Linked DNA regions of Homo sapiens: regions 1 and 3 are each linked to region 2. Evidence: promoter capture Hi-C in 16 types of primary human blood cells and fetal thymus (Javierre and others, 2016). All regions are on one chromosome and are shown on one strand. The core of a region is centred on a gene start or on the middle of the fragment in contact, and the rest is flanking DNA. Distances in the headings are between cores, read along the strand shown.

Region 1 (4,171 bases), core at 230-2,729, 200 kb before region 2:
AGAGAGTGTCGGGGAGGAGCCAGAGGGCGGGGCTGGAACCTCAAGGAAGAGCTACGGGAGAGGTTACAGACCGAGGAAGAGCTAGGAGCGGGGCTAGAACCTCGAGGCGGAGCCAGAGGGCGGGGTTATAACCTCGAGGCGTAACCAGAGGGCGGAGTTATAACCTCGGGAGGAGCTAGAAGGTGGGACTAGACTCTTGAGGGGCAGGATTATAACCTCGGGGAGGAGCTAGAGGGCGGGGCTGGAACCTCAAGGAGGGGCTAGGGGCGGGGTTATAAGCTTGGGGAGGAGCTACGGGGCTGGGCTAGGACCTCAAGGGGCCAAGGGGCGGGGGTTACGACCTCGGGGAGGAGCTACAGGGTGGGGCTGAAACCTCAAGAAGGGACTGGGGCGGAGTTATGACCTCAGGGGAAAACTAGGGGCGGGGAGAGCTAAAGGGCGAAGTTAGAATCTCAAGGAGGAGCTAGAGGGAGGGACTAAAGCCTCGAGGAGGAGCTAGGGGCGGGGTTATGGCATCGGGGAGGAGCTAGGGGGCGGGAAGATAAGGTCAGGAAGAGCTAAAGGGCGGGGCTAGAACCTCGACGATGAGTCTGGAGCGGGGCCAAAACCTAGTTGGAGAGCTGGAGGGCGGAGACAGAACTTCGCGGGAAACTAGAGTATCTAACAATAGAAACTCCGGAGGGCTGATGGGGCCGGGCCTAGAATTTGGGAATAAATTAGTGGGCCGGGAGAGGCTCTGGAGCCGGGTAGAACCAGGGGGAGTGAGTGGAGGGATAGTTCCATTAGGGCACTGGGAGTGACGGTATAACATAAAGATCGACGCGGGTGGGGCAAGGCTAGAACGTCCCCAGCAGAACTGGAGAGGCGTAATCGACCGAGGGCCGGTGCGGTGAGAAAGACCTAATAGGAGCAGGAATAGAACGTACTGATAGAGAGGGCGGGGATACGACTGTCAGGATATACGCCTCACGAGGACAGAATGAAAGGAAAAACGGGCCAAGGCAGGACTTTGGGAAAGGACTTGTGGGCAGGGATAGAACGTTCAGTTAGTGGGGTGGAGGTAGAACGTGGACAACGGACAGACTGGAAGTACCGCCGGCCGGAACCCAGCAGAACATGGACACGAATCTGAATGGACGGGGCCTGGAGACTTGGTGTTGGTATTGGGACATGCAGGGGTGAGCGGGGGTCTTGGAGCTAAGCGTAGTTAACCTCTCCTCTCCTCTCCCTCCTTCCCCCAGCCTCTTGGGGCCTGCGGTGCATGCAGTGTAAGACCAACGGGGATTGCCGTGTGGAAGAGTGCGCCCTGGGACAGGACCTCTGCAGGACCACGATCGTGCGCTTGTGGGAAGGTGAGCTTCCCCCCAACCCACACACCCCTCCAGCGCAGCATGGAACGCGAGTGATTGAGAAACCTTCCTCACCAGTAACTGGGACATGCAAACTAAAAACAAACAAACAAGGAGAGCCCATTTCACACCCACCAGATTGGCAAGCATTTAAAAATCTGACAATACCCGGGTTAGTAAGGATGTGGAGTTGCAGACCGTGTCTGTGGTGGGGGAGTAAATTGGCACATCAACCACTTAGAGCGATTCGGCAATATCTAGTCCAGATGAAGATTAACATATGCTACAGCTCAACTCCTCGCCATGCAGAAATGCCAAAGAACCTTGGCCACATATACCCAGGGACACATGTATACGAATGTTCTTAGCAGCAATGTTTGTGACATGGAAAATTGGAAACAGGCTGGGCACTGGCTCACACCTGTATTTCCAGCACTTTGGGAGGCAGAGGCGGATGAATTGCTTGAGGTCAGGAGTTCAAGACCAGGCTGGCCAACATGGTGAAACACCCGTCTCCACACACACACAAAAAAGGAAAAATTAGCCGAGTGTGGTGGCACGCACCTGTAATCTCAGCTACTTGGGAGGCTGAGACAGGAGAATTGCTTGAACCTGGGAGGTGGAGGTTGCAGTGAGCTGAGATCATGCTACTGCACTCCAGCCTGGGCGACAGAGCGAGATCCTGTCAAAAAAATGAACGAAAGAGAGAAAGGTGGGCCGGGCATGGTGGCTCACACCTGTAATCCCAGCACTTTGGGAGGCTGAGGCAGGTGGATTACCTGAGGTCAGGAGTTCAGGACCAGCCTGGCCAACATGGTGAAACCCTGTCTCTACTAAAAAATACAAAAATTAGCCGGGCTTGGTGGCAGGCACCAGTTATCCCAGCTACTCGGGAGGCTGAGACAGGAGAATTGTTTGAACCCAGGAGGCGGAGGTTGCAGTGAGCTGAGATTGTGCCATTGCACTCCAGCCTGGGCGACAAGAGCAAAACTCCATCTCAAGAAAGAAAGAAAGAAAGGAAAGGAAGAGAGAGAGAGAGAAAGAGAGAGAGGAAGGGAGGGAGGGACGGAGAGAGGCAGGGAGGGAGGGAGGGAGGAGGGAGGAAGGAAGGGGAGAAAGAAAGAAAAGAAGAAAATGGAAACGACTTTATGTCAGTCAGCAAGTCAGCAGCAGAAGAGAAACACTGTGGTAATAATTACATAATGGAGCGCTCTACTGCAGCTTAAAGAAGGAAATAGAGCTGCAGATACCAATGTGGACACATCTCAGAAACCTAAGGTTGAGAGGGAAAAAAATGTTGCAGAATATGATACGTTTTTTATAAGCTTTAAGAACACATGAAACAACAGTATATGAAGCCAAGCACAGTAGCTCACATTTGTACCCCTAGCTACTCAGGAGGCTAAGGCAGAAGGATTCCTTGAGCCCAGAAGTTCGAGGTTGTGGTGAGCTATGATTGCCCCAGCTGGGACAACAGAGACCCTGTTTCTAATAAATAAATAAATAAAATAAAGTTACATTTGAGGCATCTCAGTACTGAGATCACTAAGCTGAGGGTGTGGGGGAGGGATAGATGGATCCAGAAAGTCCCAGTTGTAGTGCTGTCACTACAAGAGCAGGAGTGGGACACAGTGGCTCACACCTGTAATTCCAGCACTTTGGGAGGCCAAGGTGGGAGGATCACTTGAGGCCAGGAGTTTGAGATCAGCCTGGGCAACATAGTGAGATGCCATCTGTATAAAAAATTTAAAAATTAGCAGGGTGTGGTGATGTAAGCCTGTGGTTCCAGCTACTCGGGAGGCCGAAGCAGGACTGCTTGAGCCTGGGAGGTCAAGGCTCCAGTGAGCTATGATTGCACCACTCCAGCCTGGGTGACAGAGCAAGACCCTGTCTCCCGGAAAAAAAAATTAATTAATTAATTAATTGAAATAAAATAGAGCAGGCTCCTTGTTGGGGTGGGGGTGGAGGCAAGGTTAACTCTAGAAAAAGACAGAGTTCGACTCAAATAACAGAAGAGGCCTAGCAGAGATCAGCCCTGGGAGTGGATGACCTTGAGACCAGGAGTGTCAGAGGCTGGTTGAGCTGAGAGGAGCCTCTGGGGTAATGAAGATCCCCTCCTTGCAGAAGGAGAAGAGCTGGAGCTGGTGGAGAAAAGCTGTACCCACTCAGAGAAGACCAACAGGACCCTGAGCTATCGGACTGGCTTGAAGATCACCAGCCTTACCGAGGTTGTGTGTGGGTTAGACTTGTGCAACCAGGGCAACTCTGGTGAGTAGGGCAGCCCTTGCCATCCCCAACCCCAAGCCATCCCCAGCTCAACCTCATCATCATCCCAATCCTATTCTTAACTTTACATCAGCTGAACCCCAACTCCATGCCTTATCCAAGTCCCAACCCCAACCCAACCCATCTCTAGCTCAGCTCCATCCCCAACTCATTCTTGACCCCATATCCAACCCCAACTCAACTTCACCTCCAATCCTATGCCCAACTTCATGTTACCCTAACACTGTTCCCAACTCAAACCCAGCCCTGTTCCAAGCACAGTTCCAACCCCATCCCCAAATCAACCCCATCCTTATCTCAGACTACCCAAATCCCCACCCCAACGACACAATTACTTTCATCCTTAACCCAATCCCCATCCTGCATGTTTGTATGTATGGTTGTTATGTATAACTTGCAACTCTGCCCTTAACAAGCTCACACGCATGCATGAGACATAGATGAGATGTCTCAGTGATGTTTGTCCATCTGACTGGGCAGGAGATGGTCCTGCCCAATCCATTGGGACGGGAGATGGTCCAAGCAATAGATACTGA
Region 2 (4,164 bases), core at 1,575-4,074:
GCAACCTCTGCCTCCTAGGTTCAGCGATTCTCCTGCCTCAGCCCCTACTCCCCAGGAACTGGGATTACAGGTGTGTGCCACCACACCCAGCTAATTTTTTGTATTTTTAGTAGAGACGGAGTTTCACCACATTGGCCAGTCTGGTCTCGAACTCTTGAGCTCAGGTGATCCACCCCCTTGGCCTCCCAAAGTGCTGGGATTACAGGTGTGAGCACCTGGCCAGAAAGGATTGATTTTAAGATTTGGGCTTGTGTGTGGTGGTCTTGGGAATGGTGCAAGGAAGTGGGACCTCGTTCTAGTTTGGATACTGTTAAACAGAGGAGGAGTAATGCTGTGGTTGGGCATTTGCATAAATCTCATTTATGAGGCAGGAGAAATAAAGTGAGGTTAAAGTTGTAACTTTAATATAATATAAGCAGTCATTTATATTAGCCAGGATATGGGGATGCTTAGTCATTCTGCGGTTTGCACAATGACCTTGTTTGTTTCTGTGTTCAGACATGGCTATGGATTGGTCTTGATTTTGTTTTTCTTTGTTTTTTGTTTTTTTGAGACAGGGTCTCACTCTGGTTGCCCAAGCTGGAGTGCAGTGTCGCAATCTCAGCTCACTGCAGCCTCAACCTCCCAGGCTCGGGTGATTCTCCCAGCTCAGCCTCTCAAGTAGCTGGGATTATAGGTGCACACCCCCACGCCCAGCTAATTTTTTGTATTTTCAGTAGAGACGAGGTTTCGCTGTGTTGCCCAGGCTATTGATTTGTTTCTTGATCCTTTACTGTCGCAGTGTGGCCTTGTCCAGGTTGGTGCTCTGTGAAATTATCTAGGCGCAGTTGAACTCCATGGCCTCACTATGTGTGTCAGGCCAACTCCCAGCTGTTAGGGGCTGTTTTTCTCTTTCTTCCATGGAAAACTACACGGCCCCCTGTTGGTTTCCTGGCCTTCTCTCTCACCCCTTCTAGAGTCATTTTCCTTTTTTACACAGAGTCCACAGTGACATTCTTTACCTTGTTTTTATTGAAGAATAACATACGTCCAGTGACAGGCCTGAGTCAGTGATTCTCAACGTATCTGTACACACATGCAGCTGTCACCTAGATGAAGATCGTGGGGGCTCCTCCCTGTTGCTCCTTCTGGGGCCATGCCCTCCCAAAGGTAACATGTGTTCTGATTTCTATCACCACTGGTTAGTTTTGTCTGTTCTGAAACTTCATATATATTCAGTTACACAGTATGTTTTGTTTGTTTGTTTAAGGCTTTCTAAACTCAACACCAAGTTTTTTCTTTTTTTAAAATAAAATGAGATGGGATCTCACTATGTTGCACAGCCTGGTCTCAAAACCCCTGGGTTCAAGTGATCCTCCCACCTTGGTGTCTCAAAGTGCTGGGATTACAGGTGTGAGCCACTGTGCCTGGCCCCAACACAAAGTTTTTGAGATATGTTGCTGCATATATCAGGTGTTGGATCTTTTCTATTGCTGTGTAGTATTCCATTGGCCGAACCAACCACTCTCTTTTGCCATTCACTTCTTTTTCTTTTTCCTTTTTTAAAATCATATATCCTACTCTCAGATCCATTTACTTTTTTTTAATTTTTAAATTTTTAAATTTTTTTTTTTGAGACAGGGTCTCACTCTGTTGCCCAGGCTGGAGTGCAGTGGCGTGATCTCAGCTCACTGCAACCTCCACCTCCTGGGCTCAAGTGATTCTCCTGCCCTACCCTTCCGAGTAGCTGGGACAGCAGGTGCACGCCACTGCACCTGGCTAATTTTTTTAAATTTATTATTTTTTTTTAATAGAGATGAGGTTTCGCCATGTTGCCCAGGCTGGTCTCAAACTCCTGATCTCAAGTGATCCACCCAGCTCGGCCTCCCAAATTGCTGGGATTACAGGCATGAGCCACCGCGCCCGGCCTCCATTTACTTCTTGATGGCTAGCTGCACTATTTCTCAGGTTGATCATATTAGGAAGCAAATCTATTATGTCCTCCAGCTCATTTAGACCCTCTTAAAGGTTCTCTACTATTCTCAAAATTAATCCAAATCTCTTGTCGGGGCCTCTGATGCCCTGAGTGTCTCGGCCTCTGCCTGACTCTTTCATCTCAGTTCCTGCCCTTCTCTCATGGACTTCTGAGCTCAGGAGCACTGCTCTCCTTTCCATGTTTGAATGGTCCATCCTACCTCCTACCTCCAGGTGCTCCCACGTGCTGTTCCCTCTGCTTGTAAAGGGCTGTGTCCCTCTCTTGACCTGCTCTAGCTGGCTACATCCTGCATGCCCTTGAGGTTGCATCTCAGATAACCTCAAGGAAGCCCTCACCGACCAGCCCCCACTTCTAGACTGCACATCTCCTTGTATCACTACACTTTTTCCTTCAGTGTCTTAGTCTCTTTGGTAAACACCAATTTGTACGATTATTTGATTAGCATCTGTCTCCCCCATCAGACTGTGAGCTCTGCCAGGACAGGCACTGGTTCTGTCTTCATCTCCAGCATTACCTAGACCAAAGCCGGGCACACTGTAGATGCTCATTTAACAGTTACCGAACACTGAATGTCGAGTAGCCCCAGCCTGTCTTTAAGCCCCACTACTCTCCCACTCCAAACACACACAGACTTTCTCCCGCGAGCTGTCAGGGAACCTCAGCTCCCACCCTTTCCCTCCTTGGCAACTTCACAGGGCAGGGACCGCTCTCCCTTGGATGACGCGCCTAGGGGCGGGGCCCCGCCCCACAGCCGACGCTGAGTTGGCCCGGTTGGGCAAGGCTGGGGTTGCCTGGGGCGAGGTTACTCATCCTGGGCTCAGGTAAGAGGGCCCGAGCTCGGAGGCGGCACATCCAGGGGGGACGCCAAGGGAGCAGGACGGAGCCATGGACCCCGCCAGGAAAGCAGGTGCCCAGGCCATGATCTGGACTGCAGGCTGGCTGCTGCTGCTGCTGCTTCGCGGAGGTGGGTCTGCTGCCCGGAGAGGTGGAGGGGGTAGAGTGGGGGCTCTTAGGGAGGAGGCTCCTCTGGCCCCGTACAGAGAAGGCTGTGGGAAGGATCCCCACATAAGCAGAGGGCACTGTGGGCAAAGTTCCCCCATCCTAAGCAAGGGAGGCAGAGGGAAGGGTCCTCCACCATGGGCCGTAGGAAGGGTTCCCCACCACGGACAAGGGGAGCTGTGGGCAAAATTTTCCTATCCTGAAGCTGCAGAAAGAAGTCCCCTGTTCCTAGGCCGGGCGCGGTGGTTCATGCCTGTAATCTCAGCACTTTGGGAGGCCGAGGCAGGCGGATCATGAGGTCAAACGATCGAGACCAGCCTGGCCAACATGGTGAAACCCTGTCTCTACTAAAAATACAAAAATTAGCTGGGCGCGGTAGCGCGAGCCTGTAGTCCCAGCTACTCGGGAGGCTGAGGCAGGAGAATCGTTTGAATCCAGGAGGGGAGGTTGCAGTGAGCCGAGATTGCGCCACTGCACTCCAGCCTGGCGACAGAGCGAGACTCCGTCTCAAAAAAAAAAAAAAGAAAAAAAGAAAAAAAGAAAAAAGTGTTCCCTGTCCTGGGCAGAGAAGCTGTGGGTAGTGTTCTCTCATTTGAGCAGAAGGGGGCTGTGGGAAGGGATCCCTCACTGAGCACAGTCTACTGTGGGAAAAGTTCTCCCACACACTGTGGGAAAAGTTCTCTCATTCTGAGCAGAAAACCGTGAGGAGGTATCCTTCCTACCCCGGGATGAGGGGCTTCATGGCGGGGATCGCCTACAGTGGGCATACAGGGCTGTCGGAAGGATGTGCCCACAGTTGGCATAGTGGGTGTGAAGGAAAAGGGTCCAGTGATTCCCGTGCTTCCAGATTTGTGGAAAGCTTTTCCCTACTCCTGCCCTGGAAAAGTGTGTGCAATAAGACTGTCTAATCCCGGGACAGAGGGCATGGGAAGGACTATTTCTCCTTGGGGGTGGACGCTTTAGCAAGGAGGGCTCAGGTCTATTCGGCTCCGCTCCCCCAGGAGCGCAGGCCCTGGAGTGCTACAGCTGCGTGCAGAAAGCAGATGACGGATGCTCCCCGAACAAGATGAAGACAGTGAAGTGCGCGCCGGGCGTGGACGTCTGCACCGAGGCCGTGGGGGCGGTGGAGACCAGTGAGTGGGGACCCCCGGGCCACGCACACCACTGCAGGCTCCTCCGGCCCAGCCCCG
Region 3 (3,882 bases), core at 591-3,090, 130 kb before region 2:
GCCCAGCCGTCCCTTTCTTAAGCTTGACTGTTCTACCCAGGAATTTAGCCAGAAATCAGTCACAAGGCCACATCTAGCTGCAAAGGAATCTGGGAAATGCAGTCTTTTCAGCTACTGTGTGCCTAGCTAAAAACAGAGACAGTGATCAGTCTACCACATCCACCTCACCTGTGGGCTTTAAAAACATCCCTCAACATAAACAGAGTCTATAAGTATTATATGCAAGGCATCGACCATTGTCTGCAGGTGCAGGGCAGGTAACTAAGGGGGTAAAACTGGCCTGGTGGGACTCATCTCCAGTTGAGGGTGACACCCACTGCTCCCTCCAGCCTGTTGTAACTTCTGTCCTGCCCCTGCTGACAATGTCAGCCTAGGTTGGGCCTTTCAAGAGAGCTGAAAATAGGATCTTAATGGGAAATCTCCCAGTGTTGGCCAAATAAAACCCGAAACAGAAGGTATCTCTGTTTGATTCCAAACCAGTTTCCCCACAAAGCGAGGCCAACTCTGGCCTGAGTTCCCCCACCTGCCCACACCCTTATGTTCTCTGGAAATTCCCACTCAAAAGCCAGAGCTCCCTGTTTAGACATTTTAATATGGATGTTTTCTGTTTTTAGATACTATTCCTGTTAGCTTATTCATACCATTTCACCTACACATATGAAAAAAATATTTCAGGACTAGAATGATATACAAAATTATTTCAACGAGACATAAATTATCGGGGGACTAGTGCCATCTAGTGCCATGGCCCCTCTAAGTGAGGATGGCAGGGGGTGGAAAAGAGACACAAGGACTCCAATTGCTACCCCCACTCAATTGGGGTCCAGCTCCCAACTTTGCTGCCCCATCCCCAAAAGCCCAAGTTGCTCCACATCTGGAACTCACCTGGTGGCATTACAGGCCAGCAACACCTCACCTTTCCTGCCCCCATTCAGGCAAAGGTCCAGGGCAATTTGCTCCCATAGCCCATGGCATCCATCTGGGAAGAATGAAGGGTGATGGCACAATCTGCAGCTAGGTATTTAACTGGGAATAAGGGAGACACAAACCATTTCTCTCCCGCACTCCCTTCCCATTTTTTTTTTTTAACAAAAGATCTCATTATTATCTGATTTCACTGTCTCACGAAGGCCCTGTGTGCTCCAAAGACTGAAGCTCTAAATAAGAATCTTCTGGGTCCTCTTTATTAAGAGCCCTCTGCCTTCCCAGGGGAGGGAAGCAAATCCTTCAGGGCCCCCAGAGTTCCTGCACCCCATATCATGGGTGAGTCCTACCAGCCACAGAGCCACCCGTCACCGTGGAGAGGCTTAAGCTGCACTCAGAGCTCCCCCCGGGCATGCCGAATGTAGTGTTGATGCAGCCCTGCTTCCTGAGCAAAGTCCTGACCGCACTCTGTGCAGGCGAAGGTGCCAGGAGGGGCACGGACCTCATGCATCTGGCGGTGCCGCCTCAGAGAAACAGCCTGCCCAAAGGTCTTGCCACAGTCAGGACAAGGGAAGGTGGGCTGGGCAGTAGTGGTTGCAACCGGCAGGGTGGGCTTGGCGGCTGGACCGTGGCTGCGCTGGTGGGTGATTAGGGCTTTGGAGGAGGGGAAGGAGCGGGCGCAGGTGAAGCAGATGAAGAGGACCCCCTGCAGCTTCTGGGCCACGAAGTCCGCTGGGTGCTCCCGCTTCATGTGACGCTCCTGGAACTTGGAATCTGCGAAGGTGATGAGGCAGCGGGTGCACTTCGGGGCCCCCAGGTGGCCTGAGGAATGTGGGGGAGAGGTCAGGGGAGGCCAGCAGGAGTCTCCAAGACCTCTTCCTGAACCCCAGAATCACACCAACAATTAACATTGAATGTGTTATGTGCTAGGTTCTATGCTAATGCTGGACAACCAAACAGGAGAACTGTTCTTGCACCTATTTTATGGATGAGCAAACTGAGATTCAAAGAGGTTAGGCAAGTTGCCCATAGTCATGAGGCTAGGAAAGGAAATGGTGGAGCCAGGGTTGGAACCCAGAGAGTCAGCCTGCCCAACAGAGGGGTATGGTGATTACAGCACAGCCTTTGGAGCCAGACTGCTTGGGATTGAATCTCACCTCCACCACTTCCTAGGCAATTACACCAGTTTCCTTATCTGGAAAATGGGCTAATAACAGTATCTACTCCATAGGACCGTTGGAAGGAATAAATGAATTGCTGTACAGTCATTTGCAATTATGACTAATGATACAGAGAAATCCAGCCCGACATCCAGGATCTGGCCTGGTACTCACAGCTAGACCTTGGTGTTCTGTTGAACATAAATTTTCACAGAATATCAAGGACAGACAAGGCCACGCTGTGACTAAAATGAATCAAGACAAGACTACATCATCATAATGTCTGAGCACAGACAAAATATGAATACTGTCCAAGCAGAAAAATGACCAAACATCCTCCTATCCTGGCTAATGTGAATGTCTGCTGCTGCTTTATCAGTCAGAGCTTGAGCCTCGCCTCCTTCCTTCCTCCTTCTGGGTAAGATTTATTACGATAGCCAATCATAGAATTGCCCCTGCTTCCTGGTAGCATCCAATCCAGAGCAAAACAATTTTGCTTGAACCTTCCCCAAAATCACCACCCACAAGCCCAAATCCTGTGTCGTTTTTACCATTCTTAGTGAGACACCCCACAGTCCCCCCATGGTCTGTGTTCATTGCAGTGAGAAACCCAACGTGTTCAACTGCAGGTGTGTTCCTGGTAGTCTCTGGCTCAAGGGCATTGAGACTACAGCTCTTGTTACAAATACCTCTCTCTGCCTCAGTTCCCAGTTTAAAGGGCCTATTATTAGAAGGACTCAATGAGATAATGAATGTTAAAATGGTTCATAATATGAGAATAAATACACCTAGCTCATAATAAAACACTGAGCAGGAGGTGTTGCTATTACATGTCAAACTGGCTACCATCATTAACCCCTAGCTTTCCCCTTTGCTGCAGTTAATCCCATACCCACCCTGTGAGGTGGGAAGTACCACCCTCTTTTGACAGTCAAGGAAACCAAGGCCCAAGTTACACTGAAAGTCTAGGGCAGAGTTGGGACCAGAATCTTGGGGTTTCTCTCCCAATAGAACCATTCCCAGCCACATCTCCAACCCAAGCCTCTCCTGGAAGCCACCCTATCCCTCTGAATGCATAAGCATTGCAATCCTGCTTATGTGGCCAGAGGAGGGTGAGTACTCTGGCCACATAAGCTGGTGTGAGGAGATGCACTTCCTGCTAGAGCAGCTCAGGGACCATTACAGCCCCTTCTCAACAGGCAAAACTCTGTGGCGCCTTGGACACCGAAGTGCCACAGAGATCTTAGCATCAGCTCCTGCACCCCACCCTCCTCTAGCCCGCCAGCCATGTGTACTCACAGATGTTGCCTCCTGGGCTCTGGGGACTTCTCTCCTTGGGTGAATCCTGCTGCTTCATGTTCTCTTCAGGGTTCGGGTCCTCCATGGTGCTGGGACCCTTCTAGTCAGGAGAGGAGCGTGCATAAGTGAAGCTGTTCATCTGTTACCAGTCTTAGAGGGCACCCTAAGTCTATGACCTTTGACATCGCCAGAGGCTCTCCTTGCCTGCCTTTGACCCCTACGACATACTATCTCCTTGAACTCTAATTGATGGAGTTCTTGCTAAAAGAAGCTTCAAACCTCCCAAAGGACTGGATTTCCTGGGTTTGGGACTCCCCTAGAGTCTTCTCACTGGTGTGACCTATGACCTGCTGCATCAAACTAACTCCCTGAACTCAGCGTGGAAGCCTTGATCTTTGACACCAGCGTCATCCCAATCTCAAGTGTCTTGGGGCAGGTAGTGATACCCACCCTTTATCCCAGTTCTTCCCGGGAAACATCCTCTGACATCCTGTGATTT

The links. The method cuts DNA at HindIII sites, captures the fragments that hold promoters and counts their contacts. A CHiCAGO score of 5 or more calls a contact.
Region 1: a contact is called between a fragment that was not itself captured here and the fragment with the promoter of LYPD3 in region 2, in 10 of 17 cell types (fetal thymus, non-activated CD4 T cells, total CD8 T cells and 7 more). The highest score is 14.2, in fetal thymus.
Region 3: a contact is called between a fragment that was not itself captured here and the fragment with the promoter of LYPD3 in region 2, in 9 of 17 cell types (naive CD4 T cells, naive CD8 T cells, total CD8 T cells and 6 more). The highest score is 13.0, in naive CD4 T cells.

The regions. Positions count from the first base shown.
Region 1 is chr19:43,664,762-43,668,932 of GRCh38, reverse strand. It overlaps PLAUR (plasminogen activator, urokinase receptor), which reads left to right. Exons shown (of 7, transcript NM_002659.4): 2 at 1,242-1,352; 3 at 3,474-3,617. LOC124904724 (a long non-coding RNA gene) reads right to left here and starts at 169. Exons shown (of 3, transcript XR_007067264.1): 1 at 1-169. RefSeq lists a silencer at 36-265. The HindIII fragment of the contact is 2,395 bases long and covers 282-2,676 here.
Region 2 is chr19:43,464,268-43,468,431 of GRCh38, reverse strand. It overlaps LYPD3 (LY6/PLAUR domain containing 3), which reads left to right and starts at 2,824. Exons shown (of 5, transcript NM_014400.3): 1 at 2,824-2,939; 2 at 3,976-4,107. The coding sequence starts at 2,861. RefSeq lists an enhancer at 4,072-4,164. The HindIII fragment of the contact is 14,493 bases long and covers 1-3,835 here.
Region 3 is chr19:43,596,695-43,600,576 of GRCh38, reverse strand. It overlaps ZNF576 (zinc finger protein 576), which reads right to left. Exons shown (of 3, transcript NM_001145347.2): 1 at 3,834-3,882; 2 at 3,384-3,483; 3 at 1-1,746. The coding sequence starts at 3,468. The coding sequence ends at 1,319. Among named protein-coding and RNA genes, the nearest start is that of ZNF576, 2.0 kb to the right of the region's middle. The HindIII fragment of the contact is 3,632 bases long and covers 25-3,656 here.